Regions from separate parts of the Homo sapiens genome. Here regions 2, 3, 4, 5, 6 and 7 are each linked to region 1. The links are contacts of gene promoters, found by promoter capture Hi-C in blood cells and fetal thymus (Javierre and others, 2016). All regions are on one chromosome and are shown on one strand. The core of a region is centred on a gene start or on the middle of the fragment in contact, and the rest is flanking DNA. Distances in the headings are between cores, read along the strand shown.

What was found. The method cuts DNA at HindIII sites, captures the fragments that hold promoters and counts their contacts. A CHiCAGO score of 5 or more calls a contact.
Region 2: a contact is called between a fragment that was not itself captured here and the fragment with the promoter of DLX6 in region 1, in 1 of 17 cell types (total CD8 T cells). The highest score is 5.7, in total CD8 T cells.
Region 3: a contact is called between a fragment that was not itself captured here and the fragment with the promoter of DLX6 in region 1, in 1 of 17 cell types (naive CD4 T cells). The highest score is 5.2, in naive CD4 T cells.
Region 4: a contact is called between a fragment that was not itself captured here and the fragment with the promoter of DLX6 in region 1, in 1 of 17 cell types (naive CD4 T cells). The highest score is 5.1, in naive CD4 T cells.
Region 5: the fragment with the promoter of SLC25A13 here is called in contact with the fragment with the promoter of DLX6 in region 1 in 1 of 17 cell types (endothelial precursors); the score reaches 5.4 in endothelial precursors.
Region 6: a contact is called between a fragment that was not itself captured here and the fragment with the promoter of DLX6 in region 1, in 3 of 17 cell types (M0 macrophages, M2 macrophages and M1 macrophages). The highest score is 8.4, in M0 macrophages.
Region 7: a contact is called between a fragment that was not itself captured here and the fragment with the promoter of DLX6 in region 1, in 2 of 17 cell types (M2 macrophages and M1 macrophages). The highest score is 5.4, in M2 macrophages.

What each region holds. Positions count from the first base shown.
Region 1 is chr7:97,004,093-97,007,113 of GRCh38, reverse strand. It overlaps DLX6 (distal-less homeobox 6), which reads right to left and starts at 1,561. Exons shown (of 3, transcript NM_005222.4): 1 at 701-1,561. The coding sequence starts at 1,136. The region is part of intron 1 of DLX6-AS1 (DLX6 antisense RNA 1); the gene reads left to right. RefSeq lists a silencer at 711-810 and an enhancer at 2,123-2,844. The HindIII fragment of the contact is 12,379 bases long and covers 1-3,021 here.
Region 2 is chr7:96,173,451-96,176,471 of GRCh38, reverse strand. The region is part of intron 11 of SLC25A13 (solute carrier family 25 member 13); the gene reads left to right. Among named protein-coding and RNA genes, the nearest start is that of MIR591, 45 kb to the left of the region's middle. The HindIII fragment of the contact is 3,254 bases long and covers 1-3,021 here.
Region 3 is chr7:96,209,370-96,212,390 of GRCh38, reverse strand. The region is part of intron 4 of SLC25A13 (solute carrier family 25 member 13); the gene reads left to right. Among named protein-coding and RNA genes, the nearest start is that of MIR591, 8.9 kb to the left of the region's middle. The HindIII fragment of the contact is 2,726 bases long and covers 1-2,613 here.
Region 4 is chr7:96,233,244-96,236,264 of GRCh38, reverse strand. SLC25A13 (solute carrier family 25 member 13) reads left to right here. Exons shown (of 18, transcript NM_014251.3): 4 at 1,348-1,463. Among named protein-coding and RNA genes, the nearest start is that of MIR591, 15 kb to the right of the region's middle. The HindIII fragment of the contact is 2,113 bases long and covers 425-2,537 here.
Region 5 is chr7:96,320,601-96,323,621 of GRCh38, reverse strand. It overlaps SLC25A13 (solute carrier family 25 member 13), which reads left to right and starts at 1,524. Exons shown (of 18, transcript NM_014251.3): 1 at 1,524-1,680. The coding sequence starts at 1,666. RefSeq lists a silencer at 1,389-1,728. The HindIII fragment of the contact is 9,010 bases long and covers 1-3,021 here.
Region 6 is chr7:96,411,395-96,414,415 of GRCh38, reverse strand. All of the region lies in intron 3 of LOC105375410 (a long non-coding RNA gene), which reads right to left. Among named protein-coding and RNA genes, the nearest start is that of SLC25A13, 91 kb to the right of the region's middle. The HindIII fragment of the contact is 2,197 bases long and covers 471-2,667 here.
Region 7 is chr7:96,432,720-96,435,740 of GRCh38, reverse strand. It overlaps a transcript of LOC105375410 not described here. Among named protein-coding and RNA genes, the nearest start is that of SLC25A13, 110 kb to the right of the region's middle. The HindIII fragment of the contact is 1,485 bases long and covers 815-2,299 here.

The DNA of each region.
Region 1 (3,021 bases), core at 312-2,811:
GCCCACGAGCAGGCTGCGCCTCTCACGGCAACTTTGTCCCCCTCGGGTGCTGAGAACCATCAGCCCGAGGTTCTTTGCTTCCCCTCCACGAACAAAGGAGCAGCCAACACTGTAGCGAAAAGCTAGATAGGGGGCCCGGTCAGGGATGAAGGTGAGGGACACTTTAAAGCCCACTGGAAAGAGCCTGACTGTTACTAGTTTAACCAGAGCGAAAGCCAGGCCAGCTTCCCTCCGAGTCACTGAGGAGCACGGGGCGCCCCACGCAAAGTAGGCCACTGCCTGCCCAGCGTGGGCTGGGAAGCAAAACACGCTCCCCAGTTCCGGCCCAGAAATGTCCCCAGCCGGGTCAAACGTGGGTTACAGCCTGGAGGGAAGGAGCAAGGAAAAGGGCGCACAGACCCAGGAGGCTGGAGAGCGCAGTGTGGACTAACTCGTCGAACGAAGCCTGCGCCGGGCCCGGGACTCAGCCCGAACTGCGCGTCGGAAGCTGAGGGTCCGCGGCGGCGGGAAGGGGCCCGGCTGGGAGAGGCCGGCAGGCAGGCGCCAGGCGAGCGGGCGCGCACGGGGCCCGGCCAAGGGCGCGCGGGGCCGCCTGGGGGAGGGGGCCGGCGGAGGCCCGGGCGTCGAGGAAGTGAGCGGGCGGGCGGGGTAGGGGGCAGTCGGGAGGCGGGAGAAGCGAGCTGCCCCAGCGGCCTCTCACCTGTGTCGTCCCCTCGCGTCTGGGCGGCTGCGCTGCTGTTGTGGTAGGACTGGAGGTAAGGGCTGTGCTGCGAGTGGCTCATGTAGGGGTAGGCGGCGAGCGAGCGGTGGTTGTAGGAGTTCCCTCCGCCCGACGCGTAGGGCGAGCCGTGGTGGTGGTGCTGGTGGTGGTGGTGGTGGTGCGAGCCGGCCGCTGCCGCCGCCGCCGCCGAGTGCAGGCAGTGCAGAGGGTAGTGCGCGCCTGCCATGGCCGGGGAGCTCTGCTGCGAGTGCGGCTGCGGCGGCGGCGGCGGCGGCGGCGGCGGCTGTTGCTGTTGCTGCTGCTGCTGCTGCTGCTGTTGCTGCTGCTGCTGCTGCTGCTGCCCGAACTCCATGAAGGCGGATTTGGACGAGTCCTGGCCTTCCAAGCCGTCAGCCATCGTAGTCATGGTCATCATCAAAAACTTTGGGGGCTGGAGAAAGCCTTCTCCCGGGTTTCCTCCACCCTCCCCCACTTGGCTCGCGCCGCTCTCCCCTCTGCAGCCACCTTAGCTCTTTGGATCCTTGCAAAAAAAAAAAAAAAAAAAAAAAAGAATTTAAAGAGGGGGGTGGAGGTGGTTCTCCCTCTCCCTCGCTCTTCTCTAATATATATATATATTTAATATAAAGAGATATAGTGAGCGGGGCCTTGTTAACTCAAAGGGAGGAGGAAGGAGGAGGGATGGGAGAGGAGAGGGGGAGGGGGGAATCTGCTCTCCCCCCGCCTGCTTTCCCCCCTTGGATTTTTTGGGGGCTGGTGCAGTTTAAGGCAGAGATTTTAAGGTGGATTCTGCGAAAGTTGCGCGTCTGCTTTCAGACTTGATGCAGACGCCACGAGTCGAATGGTTTGTCTCCAAAGGGCAGTGCCTCCCCATTGGTCAGTCGCCCCCTGACGTCACAGGCGCACGGCTTCTACTGGCGTGTGCGCGACTTGCAGAGTTCTTCGCCTACCTTCCGCAGTTCCAATCCCAGCCGGAGCTGCAGCCGGGGGCCGCGCTGTGTGGCGCCCGGGGCCGTTGGGGAGGGAGGCGCCTCTGCCCGGCCGGCCGCCGATGCTTCCCGCCGCAGCTCGTGCCCCAAATCCCGGAGCCCCAGTTGCCAATATCTCAGCCTTGAAACAGCCAACTGGGGGCTGCTCTCTTTCAATCCCTTTGCACCCTTGTAGGTTGCCTGTGCTTAGAAGCAGTGACCCCACCCCCGCATTAAATCCAGGCCCCCCTTTCTTGACGTCCCTGCCACTCTGGTCCTACTACACTCTTGTGGGAGCTCCTTGTCACCGTGGATTTTTCTAGACGTATTTTATTGAAACCACAGAAGGAAGACGAACCCTCACACCTGGGCTCCACCCCACTGGGGGGTGGTACAGAAAAAGAAAAATCAGACCCTGTTCTGGCTCGGTCCCTGCCGTTTCAGGCCGTATTTCTTATATATTGTACAAAAGGTTGTGGGGGGGGGGGGCGTCTTTTTTTTCTTTTCAGAACGCAGCAGCGTGTTCTGAAAACGAATCGTTGGAGGACTGACAGTAATGCATTTTTTCCTATTGAAAACAGAAGCTACTGTAATGCTTTCAAATATATGCAAATGATACATGCGGTTAGTGGTTTGGCAAATCTTGATTACAATATAAACTACCCAAGTAAAAGTGCCTTCGTCCTAAATTTGTCTCTCGATTACAATTCCAATTGATTTTATTTTATTGTCAACATTGTTAATGATAAAAATAGAGTCGTTTTACAGTTATTTTTACTTTCTGGAAGGAGGCAATTAGAGTTCTAATCAGGAATACACAAAAATCTCCCATGATTAACTGCAGTACTTTGTTCAAATTGCTGCTATAAAATTCAGAACAATTTGCCTGTAATGATTATGGACTGGGTTTATTTTGGGAGGTGGAATAAAAGTGGATATAGCATAAATTATCCTCTAATTATACACCAGTGTCGCCTCAATTATCCTCTTATCAAAATGGTTGTCTAACTGCCGCATTTAGTTTCAATTCTCTCCTTTTTTTCTATAAAAAGAACTTCATACCTTGTTATTATTAATCCATTTATTATTTGCAAGGGGATTTATATCCGCACATCCAGGTGGTAGAACCACTTCTCTTTCAAAGATGGACTGGGGAAAGACATTAAGTTCGGAGCAGCCCAAGGCTGCGGATCTAGCCTTTCTCCCTCCGGTCTCCAGACCCACGCAGGTTAAGGCAGCCAAGCAGAGACAGCGGAGCCCCGGTGCGTGGTTCAGGCCTGGTCAACAGGTAGGAGGGCCAGACTGGGGGCCAGGCACAGAGGAGGGCAGGCCCGC
Region 2 (3,021 bases), core at 187-2,686, 830 kb after region 1:
CCAAGGAAGCATTGCCATATGTGCTGATGGAGCTGAACTAAAAGGAGAAGATTGGAAAACTAACCACACTAATAAATTTCTTTTGAGGCAGTTGGAAAATGGACTGCTGTTTTGACAAGTTAGAAACAACACACACATCCATTCTCTGTTTCAAATGGTTAAAGTGAATTTCCAGGACCCAACAGAAACATCTTATATTAGAAACCTGATTTTTCTGCTGAATTACCCAGATGTCAGATATATATGCACTTTAGACTTAATTGTGGTTGTGATGAAGTGCCTCACCTAGACTCTCTGCTTTAGGCATTACTGGGCTGTGCTACCTCTCCTCCCTCTGAGGTCAAGGTACAAGGAGGGAGTTTGGAATTCCCACCTCTTTGACTTTTCATTGTTTCACAGATCATGACCTTCTTACAAAGACCATTTACCCAAGACTCATGTTTTCAAGGCCCACATCTGTAGTGGGCCTCAGATTATAATCCAGTCACCTTCATTTTCCTGTTTAACCAGACAAGGTAGTCACTACAAGAATGGTTCTTATCAACAACTTCCGTGAGTGGCAGCATCTGGCCTAGGTCTTAGGAATGGATTTGTGCTTTGGTTTTATTCTAAGTTGAAGTTAATCATTTAATATAAGGAAGCTCGGGGCCTCTAATATATTACCTTAAACTCCTAGTTTCTCTAGCTTCCTCAGGTCTCTGCTCTTGCAAACTATCCTTCACCTGCCTCTAGAACTTTTTACTTTTTGAACTTTACTTTTTACCCTAAAAGCCACCCCATGCATCTACAGAATTTGGTGCATGCTCCTTAGTGGGCCTGGGAGAGAAGTTGTGCAGCGTACCAGGTAAGAGCACAGGCTGGAGTCGGACAGCCTGGGTGGAACCCCGTTCCCCCATCAAACAGCTGAGCCACCATGGGCAGCTCCCTTAAAGTCGGCCTCAGTTTCTTCTTCAGTTGCTGTGGATAAAACAAAAGCCACTGTTTAAGTAAGGTATTGTGTGGATTAAATGTGTTCATTCACATAAAACACACAGTACTGTAGTATGTGGATATAGCGAGTGCTCCCCAAATATTGGCTGTTGTCATTATCACTACTATTAATAATATTGTTATTTATTATCTGGTCTTCTGTGATCCAAGCACAGCCTCCAGTGCCCTGACTCCATGCCATAGCCTTAAGATGTTGGTGCCTTTGCACACCAACTGTTTCCTCTGCCTGGGTCACCTTGCCCTCCATTCTGCTCATTGTCTCATCTTTCCGGGGAACCTCTGCTCACCCTTGAAGTCCCAGGGCAAATATCTCCTCTTCTTTGATGTTTTTTCCCCTCCTGCAGGCAGAAGAACTGGTTCTCTCCACTGGGTTCTCATAGTCCTGTGATGCCCCTGGGGTCTGGTATGCAGCACCTGCTGTTGTTAGGTGGTTTGTCCCCCATCTGGCAGGTGGAGACAACTAGCGTTCCCTTTCCCTCTAAACTCTGAGCTTCTTAGCGGGGAGGCACCAGTCTCACTGTGTTCATCCCAGTTCCTCTCAGTACCAGGCAGACAGAGAAGGCATTTGGTAAATGTTTGCTGAACAAATAGCTACTTGTTGCCTTCTTTGTAGTCTTAAATACGGGGTTTTCCCTTCTGTTTTTTGCCGTTCACAATGCATTACTAAATTTATGGTGAGAAGGATAAATTTCAGTAGTTTGAAAGGCTGGCTGAAGTGATTGTATCTAACACAGTAGTCATTAGGCTCTGTGGCCTGTTTTTTTATTAGTCATTTAAAAAGACTGTCACAGGATAGTTATGGAGACAAGAGTTCATCATTTAAATCACAGTGCTTTCAACCCATCCACAATTTTGGTCTACAATTTAATGATGAGAAAAATACATCTAGCAAGTAAATGTTTAACTAAGCATTTTGTTACTTGATGTGAATACAGGGAGAAAGATGAAAATTTCAATTGTGAAGAGGTAGTTTAAACAGGCGTATGCCCACATATTACTAGTAGAAATTAATGTTGTACTTTTATTAGGTAATAACCAAGCCTTCTCCTATTATAGATATCTTACTGAAAGATCAGTGAGTGAGTGTCATGAGTATAGTTTAGGAGAGAATGCTTGCTTTGGATAAGAATGCTTGCTTTGCCCAAATGGTTGCATATTCCCGTTTTTTCTCATATGCTGCCTCAGCTCATTTAAATTCTAAAGAGCACAGCCCCACTCAAGCTAGCAAGAGCTTAGGGGGGCTTTTGATAAACATTCACACAAGAGAGAAAGAAGGTAGAAATCTCAGATCCAAGAGCAGGAGCTGCACTGGAGGCTGGCCTCAGTGGGACCCAAAGGTGATGGGGACAGGCGCTCCCACCTGTGTGCCTTTCATGGGCTATGTGCATTCTCTTTTTAATCTCTATTCCTTTTGCTCCACATTCTCATCTGTCCACCAATGCACTTCCTCTGCTTATTCATGGTTTCTGCTTCCTTGTGATATTAGCACACACGTGACTTCCAATTGGCTGCTTTCCTTGCTCCACCCATGACATCTTTTCATCTTGTTGCTTCTGTGCTAACTTGTCCCCTCTTCTCTAAAGACTGTCAGTCATCCTCCTGGAGAAGGCATCCTAATTGGCCAGCTCTATTTTTGGTAGCAGGCTCAGGTTGCTGAACTCTTGATTTGCGTGTCTTTTAGGTGTTTTACATTGTCCAGTCAGCTGTGGCCCTGGGGATGAAGCAGGCTTAGATGTTATAGTTGCTTAGTGAAGGGCTGCAAACTCAGGACAGGTGAGATGGCTCACACCTGCAATCCCAACATTTTGGAAAGCCTAGGCAGGAGGATTGCTTGAGGCCAGGAATCTGAGACTGGTCTGGGCAACATAGTGAGGGCTTATCTCTTTGTTAAAAATAAAAAATGAGAAAAAACAAAAAGAAGCGTTGCAAACTCAAATGCTGATAGGATCTAGGCAGGTTATATAAGTGAACAAATGCAGCTGGGTGTGTGAGATGCAGGTACACATTTGCACATTAACACAGAGTTGAGTT
Region 3 (3,021 bases), core at 1-2,500, 790 kb after region 1:
TTAGACTTGGATGTAGCCTCATACCTTTTACTACCCTTCCTCTTCCCACAGGACCTAGTACAGTGCTCCCAAGCTGTGCTACTTAGAAGGTTGCTAGCTAGCTAGCTAAGCCCTGACATTCCTACAATAGCCAGTATATTGGAACAGCCACAAAGCTAATAATGGGCCTACATCCTCAGGGTCATGTGTTTGATACACTCCCCAACTCCAGGAGGCACCAGTCACATGGACCATGAAGTGAATGCCATCCACTAGAGTTGTGCAGCATGGGAGCCCTGAATGACCTAGGTCACACATGATCTGTGTTTACACATTCCTGCATTACACTGCTTGGTCTGGAGAGTCTTCTCTACCTCCTTCCTTTTAAATTTTTATCCATTTCAATGAGAAGTTAAAAATTAGGAGTGAATCTAACCCTTCCATACTCCCTGATAATGCTTTCAGAATGAGGTCCTGGACCCTTGCATCAGGAAAACCTGGAGTGCTGGCTAAAATGCAGTTTTTTCAGCCCCTCAACATGTTTAAATCAGTTTAGGACCGGGCCTGGGGATTTTGATAAACGATGTTGACTGATGATTTGTATGCAGTGCACTGAAGTGGTGAGAAATGACTGTTGAATAGTTTCTCAGCAAGGGAAACTGTAGTGCCCCAAAGGGTTAATACCGCTGTCCTTAACCTGTTGCATTATCTGTTGTAAACCTTTTCTGGCTCATTTAAATTCAGCAACTACTTAGTGAGCAGTTGCTCTCTGCCTACCACTGTGCCAGCCATAGTGGTAGAATCAGATGCGAAGAATGGGGTCTTTGCTGTGAAGGGGCTAATAATCAATTAGGAAATAAAAGACGTGCAATAAATATGCACAAACACATTAATATGTGCATACATATGCATACTATGTAATGATTTATATTACATCATATAGAGATCTTTTATATACATCTAGTATAGTATACTCTAGAAGATTTATAGAGAGATCTTTTTTCAAACAAATCATTATTGGTAGTACAGGCCTATAGGATTGTCAGATTTTAGATCTGAGAGATATCTTAGGGATAATGTATAGCTCTATCCTGCAGAGGAGATTTCAGTACATCAGCCAGGCATTTCATAGAGGCACACACACAGTCTATGGTGTAGTCCAAAAAACTATAGCGTTTAGAGTTTCGGATTCAAATGTGAGCTCTAGTAAGAAGTAAATGGTAGTTACTTTAATTATAGATAAATAAGATTGTTGTTTATGGTGAGACACATTTTACATGCATTCACTAATTTTAGAAAAACTTAAACCTACTTTCATGTATATTTATAATTTTAGACCATATAAATATAAAAATGGATAATAAGTGCCTTAGCTTTACATACCAGCTATTTAGTAAAAACCTTCTGTTACTTTCTATGGGAAACAGAGATTGAAGGAGAGATCAAGAAGGGGAAAAATCTTATTTTTGACAATTATCCTATGATTATTACGTTAAAACTTTATTTCACTGGAATGCTTGGCAGAAAGGAATTTTTAAGTTAACTGAGGATAAACCAGAAAACCATTTTTTCTTGCATATTATTTCTCTAAAATTTTATTCTAGTATAAAATTTTATTTACAGTGTGAATTTTTTTTCTTTTGGTCACATCTTTATCATTTGAGCATTATTTTCATTAGATAATTTATTCATCTAGATTAGAAGGTTATGGGAGCCTTTATTAAAACTTTATTGGGCCTGCTTCCTACAGAGATACAGACACTTACACCTGGAAAGGAGTCACAGATTATCTCGGTTAATATGTTTTGCACTGAAGAAAGTCATGTTTTAAGATATTAAGGGACTTACAGCCATTAGAACAATACTTGGCACATGGTGAGTGCCCAAGAAATTTTAGCTGCTGTTAGTAGAATTTGAATCCAAGTCATTTGAATTTCAGTTTGGTGATTTCTTCTCAGAAATCTTCTACTTAATTCCTTTTATTGACCCCTGGTCAGACTCACTGAGAATCTTTTTTGTTTGTTTGTTTTTCCTTTAAATCCTAATTCTGGATTCACTTCATTTTCCTTATATCTTATCTCTTTTTTCCCTAAAAGTAAAGAAGACAGAATAAATTCAGTACTTGTACTTTAAAACTTTTATTGTCCTCATCAGGGCCAGTCTGAGGATTTCTGCCATGTTTTATAAAATTTATGCCCAGCATAATCCTGATTTTTTACTGCCTTCTCTGTGCAAATACACACCTAACCTTATGCTAATGGTGGCACTACTGTTTCTTCATGACAAGGCTTTAAAAATTTCTGGAAACTTTAAAAACGTGGAATAAAAACTGTGGGTATAATGGGGGTGGGAGCAGGAAATTTGAGGGGAAACCATAGACACATTATGCCAAAGGTTTTGGCACTTTTCAGAGGACTAAATAACTTTCTTCTTCTTTTTTTGTTTTAAATAGAAGCAAAAGAGAAAAAAAGGTATCAAGCACAGTTTGCTCATAGAAATGAGCAGGTTTGGTAGATATATTTAAAGATGTGAAAGCCAGGAAAAATTATTAATATGCTAATAATTTGTATTTCCTCCATTCTCCAAACACATACTTTTATCAAGAGGAGGAGGCTAAAAATAAAAATAGAAGCTTTAGAAAAGTAAGGTTTTTCATGTTTTTTTCTTGTTTGTTTGTTTTTTCTCTGTCAGTCCTCTTACAGTTTTTCTGTAGAGGCTAAAAAGAGATCCTAAGCCAGGACCAGCACATTCAGTGGCCCATCTTAAATGGGATTATTTGAACAATTTGAGAACTCTTGGGTCAAGCCAAAAGAGTGCAGTAGAAAATCAAAGACTTGGGCTGCTGCTGGCTTTTCTCCTCATTTTCTTTGTCTTCACGTGCAGCTCGATAAAGTGTTGGACTTTTTCAAACACAGAAACAGCCTTAGGGGTGTTAAATATGTGTGTCAAATTTTTTCCTAATGGATTTCTAAATCTTCCAAAAACTTTTAAATAACTTGTTAAAGGCTATATGTAACGCTTGTATCGTGTGTGTGTGTGTGT
Region 4 (3,021 bases), core at 232-2,731, 770 kb after region 1:
TCCCCTGTAACACATGCTCTTCCTGAGTGTTCCCAGGCATTGAGAAGCATGTGTTTTGGATGGTTAATGATACAGAGATGCTATATTGAACACACTGCGTTTTTCCTTTCTTTGTAGCATTATTGTAATTGGGTGACATTCTGGGAAACAGCTAAGTTCACTTTGTAACAGTTTTTATAAAAATGTGTTCTCTCTATAGGATGTTTAGAAGTAACTAAGTTTTCTGTAAAATATATGAAAACCATTCCTATTTTCTTCCTCCTTCCATATCCTCCGGAAACTTGGAGTATCTCAATGTATCATTAAAGTATTTGGATACTTAAAATAGCAGTTGTTAAAAAATAAAATCTAGGAAAGCTTTTATGGACCCATTTCCTCTTTGGAAGTCAAAACGTCCTTGGCCTCTCATGTTCTTCCTAAAGCTTAGATTTGACCCACATTTTGACCTTCGGAAAGTTAAAGTCACTCCTTTTTCCTAGAGAAGAATGACCAGGCCCTTTTCTTTCTTCAAGGCCACCTCTGGTCCTATATTTCTAATCTTATTTTACATTGTTCTTTTATGCACTCCACTGTCCAGACAAAATCTGTCACTCATCAGTTTCCCTGTACACTCCTTAGCTTTCTTGCATTAGCCTTCTGCCTGAAGTGCCCTCTAGTCTACACCCATTACCGCATATCCAAGTTGTACTCATTTTTTAAGGCCTAGCTCAAATGCCATTTCTGCCACAAAGACTTTTATTACCATACTAGTTCTTGTGTTATGATTTGTCCTTCCTCTATACACTAGTCTGTTTCTAGACCAGTGCTGTCTGCCTCACTAGACTAGAAGTCCCTTGGGGTCATGTTTCATGTATCATTTATCTGTATTCCCCTTGTACTAGCCCTAGGTCAATTCACAGGTGGTCAGTAAATACCAGTAGTGAATCAATATCTGTGAACCGTTTTTTGCATGGTGTATAAGGATACTAATGCATAACAAAGTTGCTCTATTTTGCTGTTAGGCAGTCACATCTTAGTCTAAAGTATCTGCACTTTTATTATAGAACCCAAAAACATGCCTGAAGGAAGACTGAAACATATATGATGCTGGATAAAACAGTTATATTTGAAATTATAATGTATTTAGTGTGTAACTTCATGGTCAATGCTGTCATGTCTTTTAGATTCTGTGCATTATTATTTCAGTCCACTATATGTAAAAGTAAATGCTAAATGTTTATAAATGTTTTCAGTTTGAATTTTATGTTTTGGCAGTGATATCTTATTTTTTCCCTCAGTGTATGTTTGTATATGCTTCTGTTTTCCACAAGCTACTGACTTTTGCTTTATGTTTGTTTTATGTTGCAGATTAATATCTTTTCAAGAATTTGTTGCCTTTGAATCTGTCCTGTGTGCCCCTGATGCTTTGTTTATGGTAGCCTTTCAGCTGTTTGACAAAGCTGGCAAAGGAGAAGTAACTTTTGGTAAGAAGCATGCTTCTGTGCACGTCTGTGTAAGTGTGGACTTGTGTGAGCATTTTCTTTTTTTTTTTTCTAGGAACAAAATAAAGTGTATGGAAATTCTTTATAGAAGATAGTATATCCCTTTTAGTAAAGATACTTCAATGTTTTGGAGCTCCAGTTCAAACATCTTCCTATTCGAAAAAAACAAGTTTCTGGCTTAGTAGTTTTGATACTCTGATTTAGTTTTAAGGTGAGGGAGATGTGGCATGACTGTTTTCATAGAGTCATAGCATGTGAGAGCCAGACAGGACTTCTGTTTCTTCCCTGCATCATCAGTAGTGCTTTCCACTGATAGAACGAAGAAGTGAATAATCTGCCTACACACAGAAGTTACTTATGCACCCTATACTTCTTGTCTTCACGTTGTTCCCATGGAGTAGTTTGCGGCCAGAGCTGCTGCACAAGATGGTGGTTCAGAATGGTACATGAAGGACCTTGTTCTAAACAACCCCCGCTCCCCCGACCTGACTGCTGTGCTGGCAGTGTCTGCTCTCCTGTGGCCTTCTTTATTTTGCAAGGCACAAACATCATCATGGGAATTAGCTACAAAGCTGCAGAAAACCCTGATGTTTTTCAAATTCTTAGAAGAAAGGGAAGGCTTGGAAGTGGTGGGACAGTGGTAAGTTATTTTTTAAAAAACTGGCTACTAAGGACAGATTTAACGGAAAGTACCATGTTTCCCTTGGACTCTGTGGTGTCCAGCATATGTTGTCTCTGCATGCAAATCTGCAGTAGCATTGCTCATGAAGAATTTTGGAGCCCTTTAGGCATGTGGATTGTGCTTTCATGAGAGATGGCTTTAAAGATTAGGGAGAATGTGGCATGACTGTTTTCATAGCGTCATAGAACGTGAGACCCAGACAGGACTTCTGCCTGTCTTGTGCTTGGCATGTGCCCATTTTAAGTGTCTCTATTCATAGTTTCTAATTCATTCAGACCTTTGGGACTTGTCTTATTTGATGTATTGTGGAAAACATACAGATATGGGAAAAATACAGATGGTGTAACAGTGTTGCTTCCAGAATCAGATAAGCTTAGCCCCTTCCAGCTCTGCTGCTGTTGTCTCTGAGCCAAATTAGTGATCCTCTCCAGTCCTCATTTATCTTATCAAGAAGTGAATATAATAATTAGATAAAGTATTGGTAAGATAGTATAATAGATTTATTGTGCCAACCCCCTTCGCCATTCCGTCATACTCATTTGGCATGACAGAATTAAAGGTTAAATCATCTTGAGCAAAGACAAAAAATTATATACTTGCCCGGTTTCTAGAAGATCAGATGCTTTCCATTAATACTTCATGAGGATTATTTAATATTTACAGATCCTCAGAAGAAATTTATTTCCATCACCCAGTTCCTCTTAGCACCACTGCAACCACAACTTTTCAATGGAATACCAATTTTTAGAAAGTCCCCATTTAAATCTTCAAGTAATGAGTAAGCAGCTAGCTCATGGTGTTATTGATTTACTCAATGGAAGCGAGTTTGGTGACATTGTTATAATAGCGTTTCCTGGG
Region 5 (3,021 bases), core at 275-2,774, 680 kb after region 1:
GTTAAGGTGCATACCCTTCAGCAAGGCGCCTAAGACCCACCATGACACAGCCCCTACCTGCTGGGCCAGACTCCTTCCACTAGTCGTGCCACTGCCCCAATCCCATAGCTCAAGATCAAGTTACCTTTTGATATGGTTTGACCGTGTCACTACCCAAATCTCATCTTAAATTGTAGTTCCCATAATCCCCACATGTCATGGGAAGGACCCGGTGAGAGACAACGGAATCATGGGGGCGGTTACTCCCATGCTGTTCTTGTGATAGTGAGTTCTTATGAGATCTGATGGTTTTACAAGGGGCTTTCCCCCCTTTGCTTGGCACTCATTCTCTCTCCTGCAACCCTGTAAAGAGGTGCCTTCCACCACAACTGTAAGTTTCCTGAGGTCTCCCAAACCATGCGAAACTGAGTCAATTAAATCTTTTGGTTTATAAATTACCCAGTCTCAGGTATTTCTTCATAGTGGCATGAGAATTCTCAGTATTCTTATTGAGCCCTGGGAACAGTCTGCTGCCTTAACAGGTTATACTGAAGTAAACATTTATGTGTCTCTTTCCCAATAGCCCTGAAGCTGTTTAACGGTTGGAACCAGTTCTTAAGTCATTTCGGGGTTTCCAGCACCAAGCACAGTGCCTAGCACATAGTAGGAAGGCACTCAATCAACGTTAATGAATTAAACTGATTAGTAATAAGTGCTTTTTGCTGCCATATTACATCCACAACCTACAATACATTAAAAGTCCTTTTCCCTGATCACCACTGTCTTATAAATTTTGATTACAAGGACAGAAGAATGAAATCCTGATGAAGAGGAGTAAGGCCTGGAGGTCATATAAGCAAATTTTCATTAAAATGCTTGTTTATTTATTTTAGTAGGGCCTATTTGGGGGAAGTCTTTTGACCCGGGCCTTTTGACTTCTACCGTTTTAACAGGTAGGGCTGAAATGGAGTAGTTTCATGAATATACGTTCTGCACTACATTCACTTGTTGGGTTCTTAAGAGTTCACCGATTTTGATCTAAAAGTAGGCGTGCCAGCAATATTTGCAATCTCGCCTTCTAAGTCAATGCTTTTGGATCAAAGTCTTTTTGGATCCAGTGTAAAGTGGAGCTCCTTCAAAGGGAACGCACAGGGGAAAAAATATCCAGCAAAGTATGTGTCCTAGTGGAGTTCTCAACTTCCCCAGGCCGTGCACCATCTGTCGTTACTTGCCCCTCCCATCGGTCCGAGGGCCCAGTAGCCCCTGGTATCAGCAGAAGCCAGCAGCTTCCCTGGTGGGGCCACCTGCCCTCAGGTGACGGGCTTGCACACGGCCAAGTTACCTCTGCCCACGCCGCAGAGGCCGCCGCTGCTGGACAGCGCAGCGGGGTCACGTGTCCCTGTCCAGCCACTGCCCCAGGATCTGAGCCCTCCCCGGCTGCAGGGCAGAGGCCGCTGGATCACGCGCACCCCGGCGGCCAAGGCTGGGCCCAGCCAATGGGCGGGCAGCATCCACATGACCCGCGCCGGCGGGAGGGCGTGGGGAGGCAGGCCAGGAACGCACGCTGCCTGGCCGTATCGCCGCCCCCACCGCCGCCGCCGCCGGGACTAGAAGTGAGCCGCCCGGGTCCCAAACGCCAGCCAGCCAGTCAGTGGGTCCCGCAGTCGCCCGCAACCGGGGCGAATCATGGCGGCCGCCAAGGTAACCGCGGGCCCGAGGCCGGGGGGAGCGCGCCTGCCGGATCAGCCTGGGGGTGCGAGAGGCTCGGGCGCTCACGTGTCTGGGTTGGTGCCACAGGCGGAGCAAAATGGGGTGCCGGGCAGCCGTTCCACCTTGCGGCTGCTGGAGGGAGGGGGCCACTCCTCCCGGGCAGCACAGGCGGTCGGTGCAGAGACCGAGGCCCGACCTCGCAGCGGAAACTTTGTGGGCCGGACACTCCCACTTGGCCGGGGAGGGAAGTTGGTGCCTGACGGGGCTGAGCCAGGGCCGACGAGGAGGAGCGGGCGCGACTGGGGCCTGGTGCACCCTGGGCCGGCAAGCGCTGGGGGTCCTCTCTACCTTCCCAGCGCGCTCCTGCTCCTGACCCCGCTGGTTGTTGACTCCGGCTTCTTCCAGGGGCCAGAGCCCGGGCTGAAGCCTGATCCTATTACGTTTCAAGGGCTCCGCCCTCCCGCGGGTGGGGAAGTTACTTTGACTTCCGTTTTGGAAACTGCCTAGGAGACTTGGTCTGCGCCTTTGTGAATAAAAAGTCCAGGGACTCTCCCCCTCCCCGCTTTCCCATCATTCCCATCTTCCCCCTCCCTCTCTCCATCTGACAACACTTAGATACCCGCCTCGGAGCATTTGAGAGGCTTCTTTTTGGGAACGATGAAACAGATTGTCCTGGGAGCCTGTCACTCCTGTGAAGTTGTACTTGAAAGGGGTTCTGTGTAATGTGAATCATTCACTAACCCAGAGGAAAGGCAACTCCAACACTTGACCTTTCCTCTTTCACCATTTCTTGAAACCTGGACACCATTTCAGTCTCTTTGGACTGCATTTCAACTTCTCTGGCAGAATACCATATTTAGTCCCAATCACTTGAATCATTTGGAATTTATTGCTTTTAATTTAAGTTCACGAAGGCAGCCCTCTAATCAAGCCTATACAACTTCTTAGCTCATTTTAAGTGCAGTGAACTTAAATATACCTAACATTTCAAACATTTGTCCTTAATCAAAACTCTGTGATAACCCTCAAGAGGAAAACATGGCCAACACATCATATTCCTATTTATTCAAGCAAACTAATCACATTTGCAATGGAAATTGTAAGCAGACAAATATATTTAAATGCTGTTCTATGACTTAAGTCTCTCCAGGCTCCCCAAATCCGTAGGCTTCTTCATGTTGTTAGTTTCTGTGGTCTAAGTGGCATTTCTCTTTTCTGTAATTACTCTGAGTTTCATCCTTAGGAAAGTACTCTGGGTGTGTGGGCTCATGTATGTTTGCATATGAACACACAGGTGTGCGTGTGTATATCTATCTATAACTTTTCAGCAGT
Region 6 (3,021 bases), core at 320-2,819, 590 kb after region 1:
GTCAAAGAGGAATGGGGTGTTGATGTATGTCCCTTAATCAGTCATTATAGTTGGTAGCTGCCTTTTTAATACATACAAATGGCCAGCTCTGGCCAACAGGTTAAAACACAATGAAAGCTTGAATTTTCTTAGGCATAATTATTTGGTATGAATGTATCTTTTTTATTTTCCATCATTAATGAATTTTTAAAATGTATAGCCAAGCCTTTAAAATCAAGTAGGCCACAGTAATATCACCAGGAAGAGAAAATAAATAATATTATTAAGGAACCAAGAGACCTCTCTGTAGCTGTTGGGAAAATTAAGGAAAGTAGAAACTGAGCCCTATGTATTCATTATTAGAACAAACATTCTCCTCAGTGGAGATTATCGTCAGGATGACAGGTGATCACTAGTGGCCCAGGGCTTTCTAACAGTCCAATGAGGCAAAGCCCAAAGTACAGTCACAAACTCAAGGGACTGAAAAAGCTTTTGGAATCCCCTCATTCATCTCTCTTTTTTAAGCAAAGCCAAACCAACCCACACCAATTATACCAATCTCATCGTTTAAAATTGTCTAGGGAAATGAGTTTATATATTTTGTTGTAGTCCCATCCTAGTAGTTAAAATGTACACATCATCAAAAAGTTTTTTCTAATGCTAATTTAAAGCCCCAGATTAAACTTAAACCTGTATCCCAGGAGGTGGAGAAGGGGAGAGGAGGTGGAGTAAGGAGAGAGAGCAATAATTAATCAATTTCTTCCTTATAATAGCATGTGTTTTCTTGAAGCCCAAGTCTAATTCTATTTATAAATATTTCTTTCCCATTATAAGCAATTCCAGATTGATAGGTTGTTTCAAGTGAGCCATAGTCTCTTCAGTTTTTCATTAAATGTGTTAATAACTCACAGTGCATGTATCTACAGTCACAAAGCAACTTCTTGGGCTTTATCTGTTGTCTTTTACATGTATTCAGTAGAGAATGATGGGTGGTTTGAATATTTGTGGGTAGCTATTCGTGAATATGTTTACTGACTTCCATCATTAAAAGAGTCACAAGTTTCAAGTTAAACTGGAAGTCCTTGGTTTATATTTCCAATTTCTGCAAAGCATATAAAATTTTGAGGTAATGACAGCAGTGTTTCTAGAAATAAGAAACAGTCACCCACGTATCTCAAACAGTGTTTATTACATAGAACAGTTTCTGCTGAAACTACCCCTACCATATTTCATAGAATTCGTTTTCCTCCTTGCCTGGAGTGTCTGTGTCCCAGAATCTGGAATAGCAACTGTATCATCCATGCTGACTCCTGCCTGCAACCTTAACTTTTTAGAGATCAAACTGGCCCGTTGTCTGTGCTGTCACCACAAGTGACAGACCAGCCTTGTGCAGTGCTGTACATCAATTTTCAGTACAAAAATAATAGTACTTCTTCCTTAGCTGCTTGAGTAAAATCAAAGTGAGGGTCTTAAACAACTTAATTTCATCCTTCAGGGGCAAGTCATTCTTGAGCCTACTGTAACTGAAGAGGGATAGGTTGTGGTGTAATTGTTTCCTGCTTAACCATTTTACTGCTATACATCAATTTTACTCTACTTTTGTCTGTATCCAATCATATTTTCAAATATAAGTCATGTGAATATTTAAAGCCCCCTAAAAATGGGACAGAGGAAATTATTCCCAATGAACAAGGATAAGGGATCTGTATTCCTTGAATTTTAAAATAGTCGTGAATCTTAGAAACCCACTATTCCAGCTGGGAATCCAATTACGTGGCTGTCTAAACATTTTTCTTCAAGGAGTCTTTCTAGTCAATAACTATTCTTTCAGAGCATTCAGTTTGGGCCTTTACCAACAAAGACCAAGCATTTTAAAGTCAATAAACAAGGATTTATAATAGGCAGTGCCATTCTGATTTCTAGTAGAACCCAAAACCCTCTCTGTATTTCCATGCCAGATAACACATTTTACTAATATAGATTGTACCAACCTTTCTGATGGCCAATATTAAAAATTAAAATGTGTGTATAATTTGACTAAGGTGTTCACTTTAAGGAATATCATCAATAGAAATTATTGGATGCATACACTAAAATATTTGCACATAGATGTTCATCACATTGTTGTTTATAAAAGTGAATCTTGGCTGGGTGCTGTGGCTCACGCCTGTAACCCCAGCACTCTGGGAGCCCAAGGCGGGCAGATCACAAGGTCAAGAGATTGAGACCATCCTAGCCAACATTGTGAAATCCTGTCTCTACTAACAATACAAAAAAAAAAAAAAATTAGCTGGGTGTAGTGGTACACACCTGTAGTCCCAGCTACTCTGGAGACTGAGGCAGGAGAATCGCTTGAACCTGGGAGGCAGAGGTTGCAGTGAGCTGAGATTGCGCCACTGCACTCCAGCCTAGTGACAGAGTGAGACTCCGTCTCAAAAAAAAAATTATAAAATCTATTTTTCTCTATGAATAATAATAATGTGTGTATTTTCACTATCTATATAGTTACACAAGCTATGAAGCCATTTTTTCAAATGTATGAGCCATTTTTTAACGGTTTTTTTTTTAGTAAAGTGAAAGCAAGTTTATTAAGGAGGTAAAGGAATAAATGAATGGCTACTCAATAGGCAAAGCAGCTCAAAAATGGTTTTCTATTACGGTAAAGAGAGTATATGCATAGAGAAAGCTTCAAAGAAATATGTCAAAATGTTAACAGCAGTTATTTGTGGCTAGGACTACAGGTGAATTTATCCTTCTACTTTATATGTTGTGTGTTTTTTTTTTTAATTTTGTTTTGTTTTGTTTTGTTTTTTTCAGACAGAGTCTCGCTCTGTCACCCAGGCTGGAGTACAGTGGCATGATCTCGACTCATTGCAACCTCTGTCCCCTGGGTTCAAGCAATTCTCCTGCCTCAGCCTCTCTAGTAGCTAGGATTACAGGCGTGCACTACCATGCCCTGCTGATTTTTGTATTTTTAGTAGAGACGGGGTTTTGCCATGTTGTCCAGGCTGGTCTCCAACTCCTGACCTCAAGTGATCTGCA
Region 7 (3,021 bases), core at 308-2,807, 570 kb after region 1:
AACCAGACAACATATAAAAATTAGTAATTTAGTTTTCATCGTCTTTTGTTATTAATACGCCATATTAAAATGGACCTTTAAGAGTAGTATGTACCTGACACTGAAGGAAATACAAAACTGGATTTCATGAAGATTAAAAAACCTTCATATATCAAAGAACACCATCAAAAGAGTAAAAAGACTCCATACTACCCATAGTGAGCTACAGATTCAGGGCAATCCCTATCAAAATACCAATGACATTCTTCATAGAAATAGAAAAAAAAATTCTAAGCTTCATGTGAAACCACAAAAAACCCTGAGTAGCCAAAACAATCTTGAGCAAAAGGAACAAAGCTGGAGGCATCACACTATGTGACTTCAAGATACACTACAAAACTATAGTAACCAAAACAGCATGGTTCTGGCATAAAAACAAACACATAACACATAGACCAACAGAACAGAATAGAAACCCAAAAATAAATCCATCCATTTACAGCCAACTGATTTTCAACAAAGGTTCCAAGAACACACATTGAGGAAAAGACAGCGTCTTCAATAAATGGTGCTAGGGAAACAGAATATACAAATGCAAAAAAAAAAAGAAAAAAGAAAAAGAAAATAGACCCCCATCTCTCACCATGTACAAAAAATCAACTCAAAATGGATTAAGGCTTAAATACAATACCTGAAATTATGAAACTACTATATGAAAATGTAAGGGAACTATTTCATGACATTAGTCTGGGCAAGGACTTTTTGGATAGAACTTCAAAAGCACAGACAACAAAAGCAAAAATAGACAAATGGGATTGCATCAAACTAAAAAGCTTCTGTACAGCAAATGAAACAATTAACAGAGTGAAGAGACAATGTACAGAATGGGAGAAAATATTTGCGAACTATGCACCTGGCAAGGGGTTAATATCCATAATACATAAGGAATTCAAACAACTTAATAGCAAAGAAACCAAATAATCCAATTTTAAAATGGGCAAAAGATTTGAATAGACATTTCTCAAAAGAAGATATAGAATGACCAACAAACATATACAAAATGCCCAACATCACTAACCATCAGGAAAATGCAAATCAAAACCACGGTGAAATACCACTTTGCACCCACTAGGATAGCTATAATTTCAAAAAATAAAAATAACAATTCCTCTTGTGGAGGTGGAGAAATTGAAACTTTTATATGTTGCGAGGGAATGCAACATGGTTCAGCTATTGCAGAAAACACTTTTGTGATTCCTCAAAACATGAAACATAGAATTACCATTTGACCCAGCATTTTCACTTCTGGGTATATATCAAAAAGAATTGAAAACTGCATAAATGTACATGCATGTTCATAGGGGAACTTTTGAAAAAAGCCAAATTTCCATCAACTCATGAATGGGCAGACAAAATGTGGTATACGCATACAGGGGAATATGACTCAGCCAGAAAAAATGAAGTGCTGATAGATGCTACATCAATGAATCTATAAAGCATTATGTTAAATGAAAGAAGCCAGACACAAAAGATCACATATTGTATGATTCCATTTATATGAAATATTATATATTCAGAATAGGTAAATTCGTAGCAACAGAAAGCAGATTGGTAGTTGCCAGCAACTGGTGGGGGGACAGGAATGGGGAGCAACTGCCAAATGGGTACAGGGTTTTCCTTTGGGATAATTCCGTCTGATGGAAATGTTTTAGAACTAGGTAAATGTGGCAGTTGCACAACACTGTGAAAATACTAAGTGCCACTGTTCATTTTTAAATGGTAAATTTTATGTTATATGAATCTCATTTCAGAAAAAATGGAAACAAAATTATCATCTCCATAAGATATTAGCATTACAGCCTTTCCTAATTAATTTGTCCTATTTTATACTCTCACAGTGTATGTTCCCGCCATCATGCCATGTTATCCCATGTGTTCTACTTTGTTTCAATACACATCTACTACAGAGGTCAGTAAACTATGTCCTGCAGGCCAAATTTGGCCCACTGCTTGTTTTTGTGTGGCCCACAAACTAAGAATTGTTTTTTACATTTTAAATGGTTGAAAAAAGTTAAAACAAGAATAATAGTTTGTGAGACATGAAAATAGTTTGACACTTAAGTTTCAGTGTCCACTCAGAAAGCTGTATTAGTTTATGGTTACTGTCATTCTCTTACAACATACTGTCTACGCTTGCTTTCATTCTACAGTACCAGCTCTGAGTACAGAGATTACATGGCCTGCAAAGCAAAAAATATTCACCATCTGCCCCTTTACAAAAAATGTTGTTGACCCCTGATGTACTCGATCATAATAAGCTTTAAGTAGAAGTAATCTCTCACAGCACCCAGCCTGATGATTTGTACATTCTAGAGAGTTGATAAATGTCTCTTGCATAAATACCTCTGTAAAGTTTTTACTATTCAAATGCATGCCACAGGATTTCTGCTTCTATATGCTAATAAAATTGAAAGCACTAATTTCTTTGTATTTTTACAAAGTTTGACACCTCGTTTGATATTTGGCACATGAATTCTACAAAAGACTTTTTTAAACAGAAACTCCAAGCTGCAATGAGAATACATCATACCCAAAAGGAGAAGTAATTTTACAGTCTTTTTAAAAATATGAAATAGATGCTTATGTTGAAATCTTGAAAATCACACTAATGTGCCATTCAAACTTTAAACGTCAGTACATAAAACTATGTTAGTTTTCTAGCACAAAAATAAATGAAGGATTAAAAAGTTCTGATCCCTAGCATTGCCTTTCTGGAGGATAGATTCAGAACTAGTGTGACAATAGTCTTTAAAAATTTCTAAAATTAATATTTAATTTATTAGAACAAACAGAATTCTATAATCCATTTTACAAAGTGAGTTACCACGTATGTTCAAGAAAATGTAGGTAAAGATGTAAATACTAAACATTATTGGAGTAGATTGTGGGGAGAAAAGAGGCAAAAAAAAAAAGAAACATAAAGATTAGGTTTTTATCTTGATTGTAAATGATAAATTATCCAGAATCTTGGTAAGACAAAAA